3 separate regions of the Homo sapiens genome follow, and regions 2 and 3 are each linked to region 1. Evidence: promoter capture Hi-C in 16 types of primary human blood cells and fetal thymus (Javierre and others, 2016). All regions are on one chromosome and are shown on one strand. The core of a region is centred on a gene start or on the middle of the fragment in contact, and the rest is flanking DNA. Distances in the headings are between cores, read along the strand shown. Region 1 holds the start of LINC00955 (long intergenic non-protein coding RNA 955). Region 2 has its middle 170 kb from the start of ADRA2C. Region 3 has its middle 100 kb from the start of ADRA2C.

Evidence for each region. The method cuts DNA at HindIII sites, captures the fragments that hold promoters and counts their contacts. A CHiCAGO score of 5 or more calls a contact.
Region 2: a contact is called between a fragment that was not itself captured here and the fragment with the promoter of LINC00955 in region 1, in 1 of 17 cell types (M0 macrophages). The highest score is 5.2, in M0 macrophages.
Region 3: a contact is called between a fragment that was not itself captured here and the fragment with the promoter of LINC00955 in region 1, in 3 of 17 cell types (endothelial precursors, M2 macrophages and M0 macrophages). The highest score is 5.9, in endothelial precursors.

The regions. Positions count from the first base shown.
Region 1 is chr4:3,574,401-3,578,994 of GRCh38, forward strand. LINC00955 (long intergenic non-protein coding RNA 955) reads left to right here and starts at 2,469. Exons shown (of 3, transcript NR_040045.1): 1 at 2,469-2,723. The HindIII fragment of the contact is 6,504 bases long and covers 1-4,594 here.
Region 2 is chr4:3,937,951-3,942,544 of GRCh38, forward strand. It overlaps the pseudogene ALG1L7P and the pseudogene FAM86EP. Among named protein-coding and RNA genes, the nearest start is that of ADRA2C, 170 kb to the left of the region's middle. RefSeq lists an enhancer at 1-484. The HindIII fragment of the contact is 5,781 bases long and covers 1-4,594 here.
Region 3 is chr4:3,864,890-3,869,483 of GRCh38, forward strand. No RefSeq gene overlaps it. Among named protein-coding and RNA genes, the nearest start is that of ADRA2C, 100 kb to the left of the region's middle. RefSeq lists enhancers at 1-877, 3,359-3,872. The HindIII fragment of the contact is 1,127 bases long and covers 2,094-3,220 here.

The DNA.
Region 1 (4,594 bases), core at 1,219-3,718:
CACGCGGTTTACCCGTGTAACAGACCTGCACGTGTATACCTAGAACCTCAAATAGAAGTTGGAAGGAAAAAAAAAGAAACAACAAACAAAAATAATCTGAGACTCCCTGAAGGATGAGAACGGGCTGAGCGGGGCCACAGGAGCCCGCACCGGGTCCGCGGAAGGAACTCACACTCCTGCTTCAAGGTGTGGAAGGCGACCCAAGAGGCGGTACACAGACCGCGAGGGAGCGTGCTGTGAGAAGCTCAGGGAGACAGGGCCTGGGAGGCCAGGTGAGGTGTGGGCACAGCCAGGGAGAAACACTGGTGACCCGAGACGCACGGGAACTCGCAGTCACTTGACCAAGTAGCGGCCACGTTTGCGCCACACTTCCATAAACGTGACCAGTAAGGAAGCGACAAGCCTGAAGGGTCCTGACCATTTATTACTCAGGGTACAGCATGTCCTTATCCCTCTGCCTTGTCCCCCACATCTCAGGGGGCAAACAGAGCAGGTTTGTGTCAGCCGAGGAAACCCTTGATCTTCTAAGGGGACTGCTAGCCATCTCGCCCCCATCTTTGCCACAGAAAAGACGGTATCCTTTTGCCCTGGAAGATAAACCAACGTCTCGGGGAGAGGAGGGGCCGCAGGTTTATTTCCCAGAAATGTGTGCAAATCTGCAGACACAGCAGGGAGGTTTTGCTCTCCTGCATGCCTCCAGCGGGCTCTGGCTTGCAAGAATGTCTCATGCAGGCATTCTTCCAGTGCCCTGTGCTTTGAAAAATACGCAGAAAAGCCAGAATTATGGAGGGCAGCCTCCTGGGCTTGTGGGTGTTGGGCAGGTGGAGGGAGACGTATGGAATCTTCTGGTCTCCAGGCAGCTGTGCAGTGCACCGGTCGGTGGGATCAGTCAAGGAGGTTCAGAGCAGGATGGAGGAACCGCTCCAGGGATTTCCAGCAGAGAGGGGTTTGTTGCAGGGAAGGAGATGGATCCTGGGACCCTGGAGTTCGCACCCCTGCTCTGTCTGCTGCAGTGCTCCGGGGGTACACAGCCCAGCCCAGGGTCGCCCCGGTCATGTGCCCCCAGCACCAGCCCCTGGGCCTTTTATATGTTTCTGGGATGCTGCCTGTCTTCCAGTGCCATCAGGAAAGGCTCGGGGAGCTGGGCCTCACTGGACGCCATACCCCTCCCGCTGGAACAGTGCGTAGGTGTTCCGCCCTCCAGGGCAGACTGACCGCAGGATGAACGCCCCCGCCCCACAGGTGCCCAGCGCTTCACAGCTCACAGAGCCCTTCGACCTCCCTGGCCTGGGATGACCCTCTCAACACCCCCAGGAGGAGACACCGGTGCTGCCTTCAGCAGGGAAACCTGGGCTTGGATAGGTGCAGCGGCTCCTCCAAGGTGGCCAAGCTGCCTGGCCCTCGCTCATGAATTCTGAGTAGCCCCTCCTGTCACTGCCACCCACTGCTCTCCCCGGAGGCCTGTGTGTCCTTTGTTCTCTCCTGAGGATGGCTGTGGCCTCCTCCTGTTCCTGACAGGGCCCGGTGCCCACTGGCTCATGTCAGAGTTCAGGCCTGAGGGGAGGGGTGTTTGTGCTAACAGGAGGCAGAGGGCAGCCTGCCAGTCTGGCCCTGTGGCCACCTGAGCTGTCCCCTGGGACCCGTGGCTTCATGACTCTGACCCAGTGGATGCTGTCTTCATAGTCTGAGTGGGAGCCAGGTTTGACCTTGGAGTGCCTGGGGCATAGAGTCCCTGTCCTCTGGAGGAAGAGATGGTCATCCCTTTTCATGCTGACTGGCCCCAGGGCAGGACCTGCTCTTTTGGACCCTAAAAGGGACAAGGCCTGGTGGCAGAGCAGAGCTGGGGCTCAGGAGAGGGAGACGGGTGGGAGGAAGGGAGGAAGAGGAAGAGAAGGAGGAAAGGGGGAGATGAGGAAGGGGGAGGAAGAGGAGGAGGAGGAGAAGGAAGAGGAGGAGGAGGAGATGACTCAGGCACCCACGGCATTACTGTGGCAGGCTGGCCCTCGGTTTCCCCAGCAGTAAATGAAGAGATGGGGTCAAGGGGCCCAGGCCCCCTTCCAGATCTGAGACCTGCGCATCAGGCTGTCTGTATTCAGAGGAAGCCGGGGATGGCAGCTCCCAGCCGTGGGCTCGGCCTTCATTCACTGTACAGGCTCATCCATTCACCCAGTGAACCCTCCCGAGTCCCTTCATGAGGGCGGCCTCGCAGGGACTTTGGTCTCGGCTCTGCCCTGTCCTGGCCTTGGGACCCTGGGTGAGCTGAGGCAACCCAGTTTCCTGGTCTGTGACTCCAGGCTCTGTCCTCGCCCCATCGCCCCCCATCGTGGCACAGGTTCGAGGGTGTTGGCTTGCCTGGCCTCCTGAGGGCCTTCTGGGGTTAAAGTCTTCTATCCTGAGGCTGAGACCAGGGCTGGGGAGGAGGTTCAGCCCCTGTGGACTTTATCCTCCCTCTCCACGGCTGAGTCTTGATTTACAGCTGGAAGGGCAGACGGAGGCATCTTGGTGTATACACAGCCCTGCTGGGCCACATCCCGGGTCTCCTCCCTCTGCGATGCCATAGCAGGGGCGCCTTCCGAAAGCCCTCTGGATTGAGGCAGCAGGATCTATGGTGGAACCTGCCCCGGCGTCGCCAACGCCCCTAGGACCCCAGCACACTGACTGGGGAGCATCCCTGTGTCGTTTCTGCCCGGAGAGGAGCAGAGGCCAGGCTGCTGCTCTGGGAGGTGAGTGTCATGCCTGGGAACACAGCGGGGACCCCAGGGAGGGAGAGCAGGTGTTTGCTCCCTGGGCTCTGCCTGGTGGTCCTGACAGCAGTCCTGACTGTTGCGAAGGCTGTTTTTTGGTGGCTTCCTTAGGGTCCTCGCTGTGCTCTCGGTCCCAGCACTGTCTGCTCTCCTTCCTGGTTATTTGAATGACCCGGCTCCTGTTGCTGTATCCCGGGTCCTGACCTCCCCTGAGATGGACTCTGTTCAGGCTAGACTGCCTCAAGGGACCCGCTTCAGTCTATTTGTGGCAGAAAAGGTTAGCTGGCTCCTGGGAAATGTCAGGGGATAAGTCAAAGCTGGCCAGCGGCAAGGCCCAGTGACGCCCTGTCATTTTATGACTCCCTTTTCTTAATCAGTCGAGGAGAAAAACAAGCAATGAAGGATTTTCCATGGCAACCACCAGCAGGGCAGTGTTCTCTCCCTACCTGAGCTTGTTTTAAGAAGAGGGGTCTGGCCAGAGGCTGCTGACCCTGGCCCCAGAGGGCAGGGGTCGAGTGTCCTGGAGTGTGACTCCCAGGCACCTGGGCTTGGGCTGGGCCCCTGGAGCAGGCGCAGCTAATCTGGCCAATCTACTCCTTCACACTCATGGAGCAAATGGGGAAACAACCCAGAGAGGGGCAGCCCAAGGAAGCAAATTTGTAGAGCCTGACACTCTGAGAGAGCTCTCAGAAGGATACTAGTCTTCTAAACCAGAAACTTATTCATATAATAATAATAATGTTTATAATAATAACATTATTAATTCCTTCACCATCCACCCACTTACTCACCCTCTTACCCATCTGTCCATTCAACTCATCCACCCCCACATCCAGCCAGCTTCCATCCTATCATACATTCATCCACCTACCCGTCCACCCTTTCATCCTTCCTTTCTTTCATCACCCACCCATCCTCTCACTCATTCATTCATCCATCCACCCATCCATCCATCTACCCATTCATCCACCCATTCATTTATTCACTCTCCCATCCACCCATCCATTCACCCTTTCTTTCTTTCATCATCCATCTATCCACCCATCCATCCATTCATCCACATATTCGTCCACCCATTCATTATTCACTTATCTATCCATCCTTCCAACCATCCATCCATTCATCCACCTATTCTATTCACCCACCCATCCTTTCATGCTTTCTTTCTTTCATCATCCATCCATCCATCCATCCATCCATCCATCCATCCATCCGTCCATCCATCCATCCACCTATTCCATTCACCCACCTATCCATTCATTCACTCACTCATCCATCCATCCACCCATCCGTCCTCCCTTTCTTTCATCACCCACCCATCCATTCACTCACCCATCATCCATCCACCCAGCTAGCCAGCTTCCATGTCTATATCCAACTACTCACTCATCCATTCACCCATCAACCTAACTAAACTTGTTTTCTCCCATGTAACACAATACTTATCCACCCATCCATCCGTCAACCTACCCAACCACCCCATAACACGCCCACATCCTTCCCTTTGCCCATCTGTACACATACTTATCTACCTCTCCTATACCCATATACCCATGACATCCACTCACCCATTCATGCATGATCCTCCTACACATTCACTCACTTACCCATTGACTGCTTCACCTACTTATCCACTACTCCCCATTCACCCATACCCTCATAAAACTTCTATCCATCCATTCTATCCACCTACTCAAACAACCACCTATCAACCCATCTACCCATCAGACTGTGGTCCACCCACCTATCCATCCACCCATCTACCCATCTACCCAAAGACCCATCATCCATCCTCTATCCACCCATCTATCCATCCATCCATCCATCCATCCATCCATCCATCCATCCAT
Region 2 (4,594 bases), core at 1,250-3,749, 360 kb after region 1:
TTAAACGGAAGAGCCCCTGTCCCACAGTTACTGCTGCTGAGCCCTTTCAAGGTGACTCAGTGAGGAGGGAGAAAAGCGGAAGCGGTGTGGGAAGAGGCGGGGTCTGGGCCAGCTGCTGCTCCTGCTCTCCTCCCTCCTCTGGCCTCTAGGCTCCCAGGAGTGGTTTGGAACCTGCGCCATGTGCTCTGGAGGCTGTGGCAGGGCAGGGGCGTCTTGGAACCTGCGCCATGTGCTCTGGGGGCTGTGCCAGGGAAGGGGGAGTCCTCGTGTCCCCTGCGCACAACACAGACAGAAGGCTGGATCCACCCAGTGGGCGGTCGGGTGCCAGGCCAGTGCTTACTCCGCCATGTTTGCAGCCCGAGGCCAGCTGGCTGCAGGTGCAGGACTATGCCTCAGGGGTCAGGGTGCACACACCCCTGCATGTCTCGGGGCTCCTGGGTAGCTTCTGGAAGGGCCCAGATGGGGCCTGACTGGAGCTGCCGAGGGGTGGAGCTTCTGGGAAAAGGATCCCTCCTAGGGGGGAGTGTCTTGAGCCTGGGGCCATGTGGCAGGGACAGAGACGGGTCCATGGCAGTGTCTCCTCTTCTCTGTGAAGGCAAAGGGCCTCTGAGGGAGTATTACAGCCGCCTCATCCACCAGTAGCATTTCCAGCACATCCAGGTCTGCACCCCCTGGCTGGAGGGCCGAGGACTACCCCCGCTTCTAGGTGAGAGGCCAGCGGGAGGCTCAGGGAGGAGGCAGGGCCTTAAGCAGGGGGAACAGGGGTGGGCAGGATGTACTTTTTCTGAAAAGGTGGCTCTGGAGGCCACTTGGGCACGGGACCTGGGCTCTGGCTGAACTCCCGGGAGGAGGCTACTTTCTGGTGTGCCAGCCCCTCCCAGCCAGGTGGCCCCAGAGGCCCTTTACCAAGGGGTTTGAGGAGGTCACATCCTTTCAGCCTGCCACGCCCTCCATTCAGTCCTCTTCCTTCCTGCAGGAGGGCTGGGCCTGGGGTTGGGGCCACTGTTGCCCAGGTGTAGGAAGGCAGTGGCTTTGGGAGGTACAGGGACGATGTGTCAAACAGCGTCGCCTCTCCCAGTGAGATGGTTCTGCTTTGCCTCCGTCTCTTTCCCCGTTGTTTTCTCCAAGTGGGGAGTTGTGTCTTGGTCCTGATGCGTCTCTAGAGCCGCATCTTCCAGCTTCTAGTGAGCAGAGCAGTTGGAGGCTGAGGCCTTTTCCTGGCAGGACTCTCCAGCTAGTCTTTGTTTTAGACAGTCTCGCTCTGTTGCCTAGGCTGGAGTGCACGATCTCAGCTCATGCAACCTCCGCCTCCTGGGTTCAAGCGATTCTCCCACCTCAGCCTCCCGAGTAGATTATGGGATTACAGGAGCCCTCCACAACACCTGGCTTATTTTTGTATTTTTAGTAGAAACAGGGATTCACCATGTTGGCCAGACTGGTCTTGAACTCCTGACCTCAAGTGATCCTCCTGTCTTGGCCTCCCTAAGTGCTGGGATTCCAGGCGTGACCCATCACGCCTGGTCCCAGCTAGTCTTTAGAAATGTTAAGCCGTTTCGCTTTATTTTCACACTGACAGCTGGTTTGTAGTGGGTGTGCTGTGGTTTATTATTATTATTATTATTATTATTATTATTATTATTATTTTGAGAAGGAGTTTCGCTCTTGTAGCCCAGGCTGCAGTGTAATGGCACGATCTTGGCTCACTGCAACCTCTGCCTTCCCAGGTTCAAGCAATTCTCCTGCCTCAGCCTCCTGAGTAGCTGGGATTACAGGCACCTGCCACGACACTTCGCTAATTTTGTGTTTCTTTTAGTAGAGATGGGGTTTCACCACGTTGGCCAGGCTGGTCTTGAACTCCTGACCTCAGGTGATCCGCCCACCTTGGCCTCCCAAAATGCTGGGATTACATGCGGGAGGTGAACCTGGGAGGTGGAGGTTGCAGTGAGCTGAGATTGTGCCACTGCACTCCAGCCTGGGTGACAGAGTGAGACTCTGTCTCAAAACAAAACAACAACAACAAAAAAACCAAATTGTGATTACGTAGAAAAAGTGTCAACTTACATTTTCAGATGTCCCAGCCAGACCATGTGGCTGCTTGGCCAGCTTAAGCCACTTGTGCTTGGGGCTGCGGGGGGCCTTATCTGATTTTCACTCCCCTCGGGGGATGCTGCCTCACTGTGCTGGGAGGATTTGTGTTCCCAGGGCAGAGACCAGCTCTCTGACCGCACCCCTCTTGCCTAGCAGGGTCGGTGGACCTGGGTGTCTGTCTAGACACGTCCTCCAGTGGCCTGGACCTGCCCATGAAGGTGGTGGACATGTTCAGGAGCTGTTTGCCTGTGTGTGCGTTGTGAACTTCAAGTGGTAGGAGCAGAACCCGAATCTTTCTGGGGATAGCTTCACAGATCCACCGCTGAGGGGGAAACAGTGCAGAGCCAGCTGCCCACAGTGAGGCCCTGCCCCTTGGTCAGTCCAGCACACACTGGAGGCCATGAGGAGGAGCCCTGTGGTTACTGTGGCTGGGCTGAGCCTCACTGAAGTAGTTGCTTCCATTTAGAACTCATGTTATATTTAGGTTGGTACAAAAGTAATCACGGTTTTTGCCATTAAAAATGGCAATAACTTTTGCACCAACCTAATATGAAAAAAGAAAGCACCTTAAATACTAGAACTCCACTCGGGGCTTTTGCTCCTAGAGTAGAATTGGCGGGAATTGCCTGCAGGCTTACATGGTTTTCTTTGTTTTTCTCTCCCACCATGTCCCTTTTGGCCAAGCTCACATGGTGGGTTTGAATGAGTTAAATGAGTGTCATGCTGTGGCCTCACTGCACCCAGCATAGATGGGTGTTTGGAAGGGTGGCGTTAGAGGAGATTCTAGAAGCAGTAGCCCCAGCACAAGTTGAGCCCTTGGCCCCTGCTCAGGAGCCGGCTCCTGGATGGGATTCAGGGATTCAAGCCCCTCGTGTGAGCTGAGCTCAGGGAACGTCTTGATCAAATCTGGTGCCCTAGAAAAGTCATCTTTTATGTGCTGAACCAGTCTCCAGGGGGTTGCCTTACTTGTTCCACAGCCATGGAATTAAGAAAAACATACAAAAATAATTCTTCAGTCCTTGAAGAGCATCCAGCACAGAAGGTACAAACCCTCCTTAAGGCTCCCTCCTCAAATCGGTTTGGCCATTTTGATGTGCACTCCCCCAGGCCTTTATACCCTTCAGATGCCAAATCTAAGAACCAGCTCCCAGAAACCACACCCCCTGTTCCAATCCCCAGCCTGGCTTGAGCGTGGGGTGCGAGGGGAGCCCAGGTGGGCACCCCAGGGGTCTGGTGTCTTCTCCAGGCAGCTCTCAGGCTCCCTTGGTTCTCTCTGCAGTTTACATGAGCTGGTGAAACATCAAGAAAACGGCTTGGTCTTTGAGGACTCAGAGGAACTGGCAGCTCAGCTGCAGGTAGCCACATCTGCCACTAAGCCAGGGTGGGCAGGGTTCTGGAGACTGGCACCGAGCCACGCTCCCTGATCCCTGCTTCCCACAGTCGGGGTGGGACCATGTGGGGTCTGGCGGAAAAGCTAGGGAGGGAGCAGAGGTCACAGAGGCTGGCCTACTCTGCTGTCCCGTTTCGGTACAGTAGGCTCGGGAAAGTTAGGACACAACCCCACCTGCCCGCCTGCCCGCTGGATTTATGGAACAGACACTCCACAAATGACGCTGGAGCCGGGTGGGCCGGGCTGCAGTTTAGGAAGTGAGCAGGATCAGGTAGGTGAGTGGGCAAAGGGAGCTTCTGGGACCAGCCTTGAAAGATGGGTGGAATTCTGCAAATGTTACTTGTTTCTTATTGCAAAAAGTAATACATCGTTCTTGCCAACAGAATGACTGGCAGGATTTTCAGTAAAGGTCCAAGTCGGAAGTCATTTAGACTGGGTCCCCTAGTCTCTGTCAGAACCATGGTACTCTGTTGGGGTGTGAAAGTAGCCACAGATCATCTGTAGATTAAGGGGTGTGGCTTTGTTCCAATAAATCTTTATTTACAAACACAGGCTGTGGGCTGGATTTGGCCTGCAGGCTGTAGTTTGTGATCCTTGATTCAGACAGTTTAGCAAGGCTGAAAAGAACACCGACACCCCCTTGTTACCCACAGATGGGTGGGACTTGGCCAGAGGCCAAGAGGAGGGTGCTCGCAGGGGAGCATACAGCATGAAGAGGCCGGGAGGTGCCCCAGGACACCAAGTGTGGGAAAGTGGGACATGCGGGGAAGTTCCCAGAAAGCGTGATGTCAAGTTGGAGGCGGAGCGCTGCTGGGGCGTGAAGAGTCTCGAGTCCAAGTGAGGGAGTTAAGAACTTGGTAGGGGTTGTTGTTGGGTCGGGCACCTGGGGTCAGCCAGGTGGTGACCTGGGATGCGGTGGGGACAGGCAATGAGGTAAGCTCTGCTCTTTAGTATTATGCAGATGCTTTTCTCAAACTTTCCTGATCCTGCAGGCAAGCTAAACCTGTTCCGGAAGAACCTGCGGGAGTCGCAGCAGCTCCGATGGGATGAGAGCTGGGTGCAGACTGTGCTCCCTTTGGTTATGGACACATAACTCCTGGGCCAGAGGCTAAAACC
Region 3 (4,594 bases), core at 1,407-3,906, 290 kb after region 1:
TTTGTAGGATGGGAACAGCCTGGGTTTTACAGCAGCCGTCTCCGGGAGCCCGAGCTGGAGCAGGAAGAGGCCCGGCCGGGACTCTGCAAGGCGTGGGGTGCAGGTGGTTCTCCTTTCCTGGGGTCCCCGCTCTAGGGTTGATATGGCCTCCCTGAGCTCCAGGGAGATCACAGCTGAGTGCTGAGCCCACCTTCCGGCTGTGGCGGCGGGGCCACCCAGGCCCTGTGGAGGGGCCTGCACTCCGTCTCTGCCTCCCACCTCCCTGCCTGGGCCCAGGTAGCCACGGTCCAGGGGCAGGCCAGATGAGTGTCTGGGGTTCCAGCCTCCCTGCTGCCGGGCAGTGCTGCGCTGTGCCGGCCGTGCCAGCGTGGGGAGGGGGCCGTCATGGCTCTCAGCTCCTGCAGCCCATGGCCCAGAGGCTACCCTCACCAGGGCAGGCTCCAGGCCCTGAAGACACCCCTCTCCCTCCAGGGCAGCCTGTGCCAGCTCTGAAAGCGCCCCCGCCCCCCACCCACTGCCTCGGGGAGGTCGTCACAAGGCTTCCTGTGCAGGTACTCACCGGGGCGGCAGGAGCACAGGGCTCCATCTGCCCACAGGAGAAAGGAGGGAGCAACTTCGCCTGCCCTTCCCTGGGGGAACACGGCTGGAGCTGTGGCTGTGATGACTGGAGCTGTGGCTGTGGCTGTGACAGCTGGGTGGCAGGTCCAGGCGTCCCACCCAGGGTACTGTCCTCTGCATCCAGTCCAGGCAACACAGAATAAGCATCATGCTCCAGAGGAGGTAGCCTGCCTGTCCTTCAAATCCCTCTCCTGAGGCCCATCCTGCCCTTATGCTTGTCTTATCCCCAACCAGACAGGCTGCCCGTGCCACTCCGATGCCCAGCACCCACCAGCATAGCCACCTGGAGTTGTTTCCCCAAGCTGCAGGCCACTGTGTTAAGGGCCAGTCAGAGCTCATTTGGACAGGAAGGTTTTCTACACATTACAGCTCCCAAGCTGAAAGAAAGTTGTGAAAGCTGGACAGGTGGACATGGGTGGGAGAGGTGACACGGGTGGGACAGGTGGACACAGGTGGGAGAGGTGACACGGGTGGGACAGGTGGACACGGGTGGGACAGGTGGACACGGGTGGGACAGATGGACACGGGTGGGAGAGGTGACCCGGGTAGACGTGGGCAGGAGGGGCAATCTGGGTGGACGCTGGTGGGAGGGGTGTAATCTGGGTGGTCACGGGTGGGACGGGTGACCCGGGTGGACGAAGGTGGGAGGTGTGGTCCGGGTGGACACGGGTGGCAGGTGTGATCCGGGTGGTCGCAGGTGGGAGGGGTGAGCTGGGTGGACGAGGGTGGGAGGTGTGATCTGGGTGGACAAGGGTGGCAGGTGTGCCTCAGGTGGAGAAAGCAGCGTGATGCCTGCAGCCCAAATGGAAGTCACAGCCACCCAGGCAGGCAAGAGCTATGCCAGGCTGAGAGATGGAGATTTTGTCAGGAGGGCCAGGAGCATCTTGGGCTGACCCAGAGGTGGGGGTGACGCAGGCCCAGTAGGGGTTGAAGGCGGGGCTGGTGAGCTGGACAGGCAAGGGGAAGGCTGAATCCTGGCTAGAATATTACAACTCAGGTGATAATTATGCCCACTGTGGAGTCCAGATGGGCCCCCGGAGCTCTGGGATCAAGGCCTCATCTTCCCCGGTGAGGAGGAGGGTAGCCCCGAGGGGAGTGGGCAGCTCCATGGGGAGCCCAGGGCTGGGCCTGACTTCTCAGAGCCTTCCTGGCAGGCTGCAAAGGACCTTCAGTCATCCCCCTTCCAGCCTGGCTTGAATTCCCTGAGATGGGGACTCACTGCTAAGCCACCTCCATCACCACGGACGTGGACACAGGAGGGTAAGGCAGTGGTCCAGCGTGGTGGCCCCCATGTGAGGGACAGCAGGGATGGGAAGAAAAACGGCAGGAGAGTGGGGAGGCAGAACACAGAATGGGCTGCGGGAACGGGAGGCCAGCAAGGCTGGGGCCGCTCTGTCTGCTCAGATAGACTCATTCCAACGGATGCCGGCCAGATTCGTGTCCTGGGGCCGCCAAAACCAAGTCCCACAAACTGAAGCTTCAAACAACAGACACTGCTTCTCCCCAAGTTGTGGAGGCCAGAAGCCCGAGATCCAGGTGCCAGCAGGACTGTGGTGGCTCTGCAGTCCCCAGGGAGGCTCCTTCCTGCCTCTTCCAGCCTCTGCAGGCTACAGCAGGACTCTGGTCTCTGCCCCCACTGGCCCCGCACACTCCCTGCCTGTCCATGCCTCTTCCCCCCTTCTAAGGACACCAGTCATGTGGGTTCAGGGCCCACCCTACTCAAACAGGGCCTCATTTAACTGAACCAATTACACCTGCAGTTCCCTGTTTCCGGAGAAGGGCAAATTCTGGGGTTCCAGGAGAGACATGAAATGAGGGGGACATTATCCACCCAGTATACTGGCTGAAGGCCTCAGGGCCTCCTGGGCTGGTCTCAGGGTGGGAGGGAGACTTGGTCCCTGTGGAGGTGAGCAGTCCAGGGCCTTCAGAGCCAGCCTCCACAAACGTGTGGATGAATCAGTGAGGGAGAGGGCTGTGCTGTGGCCCTTGTCCTCGGGGAGTAAGCCTGTCTGTGGTGATGGCCATAGCACCAGGATGCAAGGTAGCAGGTGAGAGGGGCAGGGACACAGGCGGTGCCGCCCATCCTGCCCGGGGAAGTCTGGAAGCCTCTTCGGGCTGACCTGCCAGCCAGGCCTTGGAGGCGAGGAGGCACTGCTGTGAGGACTCTGCAGCCCTTGGCTGGGACATGTCCCCCACTGTGGGCAGCTGCTGCTGCAGACACACTGGCTGTTAAGGAGCAGAGTCCAAGCCTCCTGCAATACGTTCGGGAACTTTCTGCCTTGGAAAACATCGAATCTCTAATATTGTCCCTTTCCTCTAGAAAAGGCACTGGGTACAGAGATGACAAGGCGCTGGCCCTGCCTTCCAGGGGCCCCCAGCATCATGGGGAAGACACCCAGTGACTGGCCAACTCATCTCTGCCTTTCCGCTGTCGGCTGCACAAGTGTGCACCTGCTGTGGCCCCTGGGAAGTCTTCTGTGCTAAAGTGGAAAGGCTTCCAGTGCCTTCACAAAGTAAATGCTGCTGAACGACAGCTGCCTATCTCAGTCCACTTGTGTCGCTACAAAGGATACCCGAGGCTGGGTGATTTATAAAGAACAGAAGCTTACTTGCTCACGGTTCTGCACGCTGCCTGGGAAGCACGGCCCTGGCATCTGCTTGGCTTCTGGGGAGGCCTCAGGAAGCTTCCACTCACGGTGGAGGGGGAGGGGCTGCGTGTGTGGAGCTCACAGGGCGGGAGAGGAAGTCAGAGAAGGAGGTGGGTGCGGGCTATTTTCAGTAGCTGCTTTGTCGGAAACTCAGACAGTAGAATTCACTCCCCAACCCCCGCCCCAGGGCATGAATCTACTCACAGGGATCCACTCCATGAGGAAAACACCTTCCATTAGGCCCCACCTCCAACACTCTGGGATCAAATTGCAACCTGAGGTTTGGAGGCCCAACCATGCAGCTGCCAGCACTGCTCCTGGATATCACCAAGGAATACGGGTCAGTCTCAGTCCTAGAGATAGCTGCTACCCTCAGGGACTCAGCCCTAGCAGTACCAAGGACAGCGGCCTAACCACCAGATGTGCCTCCTGATAAGGTCATTGGAGCATTCGCAGACAGTCTTCAAGCATCCACTGTGTGCCAGGCTCGCGCACCGAGGCCATGCCAGCGGGTGTCATCATGCCAGCTCTTCCCAGGCCTGGGCAGCTGAGACCTGTGCATGCCAGGCCAAAGTCTCCAGCCCCAGATGTGAACCTGGAATGCCCCGGCCCACCTCCTCCTTCTTGGGGTCCCCAGATTCGCTTCCCGAGGACCTCGAAGGGTTCACATTCTCACCATAAGCAGGCGCTCACACCGGGGGCAAGCAGAGGGACAGCAGCCCCCTAGAGGCAGGGCCCAAGGGTCCCATGCACTTCACCCCTGCTGCAGGACCTGGCCTGGGCCTGTGACTTGGGAATGCCACATCATAGAGGTTCTCTGGAAACAAGGAATGCAGACCCCATGACCACGTACCCCCACTCCCCAGATGACCCACTGCAGCAGACCAAACATGGGCATCCATCTCTGAGTGCCCCGCAGTGCAAGCAAATGACGTGTCTGGGTTTGTGTCTCCCCAGAGCTGACTGGAGATAGGGATCTGAGGGTTAATGTGTCCTTGGGAGTCGAAGAGAGCAGTGTCAAGGGCAGTGGGGAGGGAGGAGAGGCAGCCACTAAGCAGGAGAGACCTGCAGCTTCTCAGATGGCCTCCCTGTGGTGGCTGGGTCCTAGTGGGTCCACCTGACATCTTGCCTTTAATTTCCTACAGCTGCCGACAAAGCGCAATAAAGCCGGTGACCTCAGATACAGAGTTTATCCTCTCACCATCCCGGAGGCCAGAAATGCCAGACCAAGGTGCCGGTGGGCCGTGCTCCCTCAGGAGGCCTTGGCGAGGCTCCCTCTTGGGGCCCCAGGTGTTCCTGGGCTTGTGGCTACATTGCTCCCATCCCTG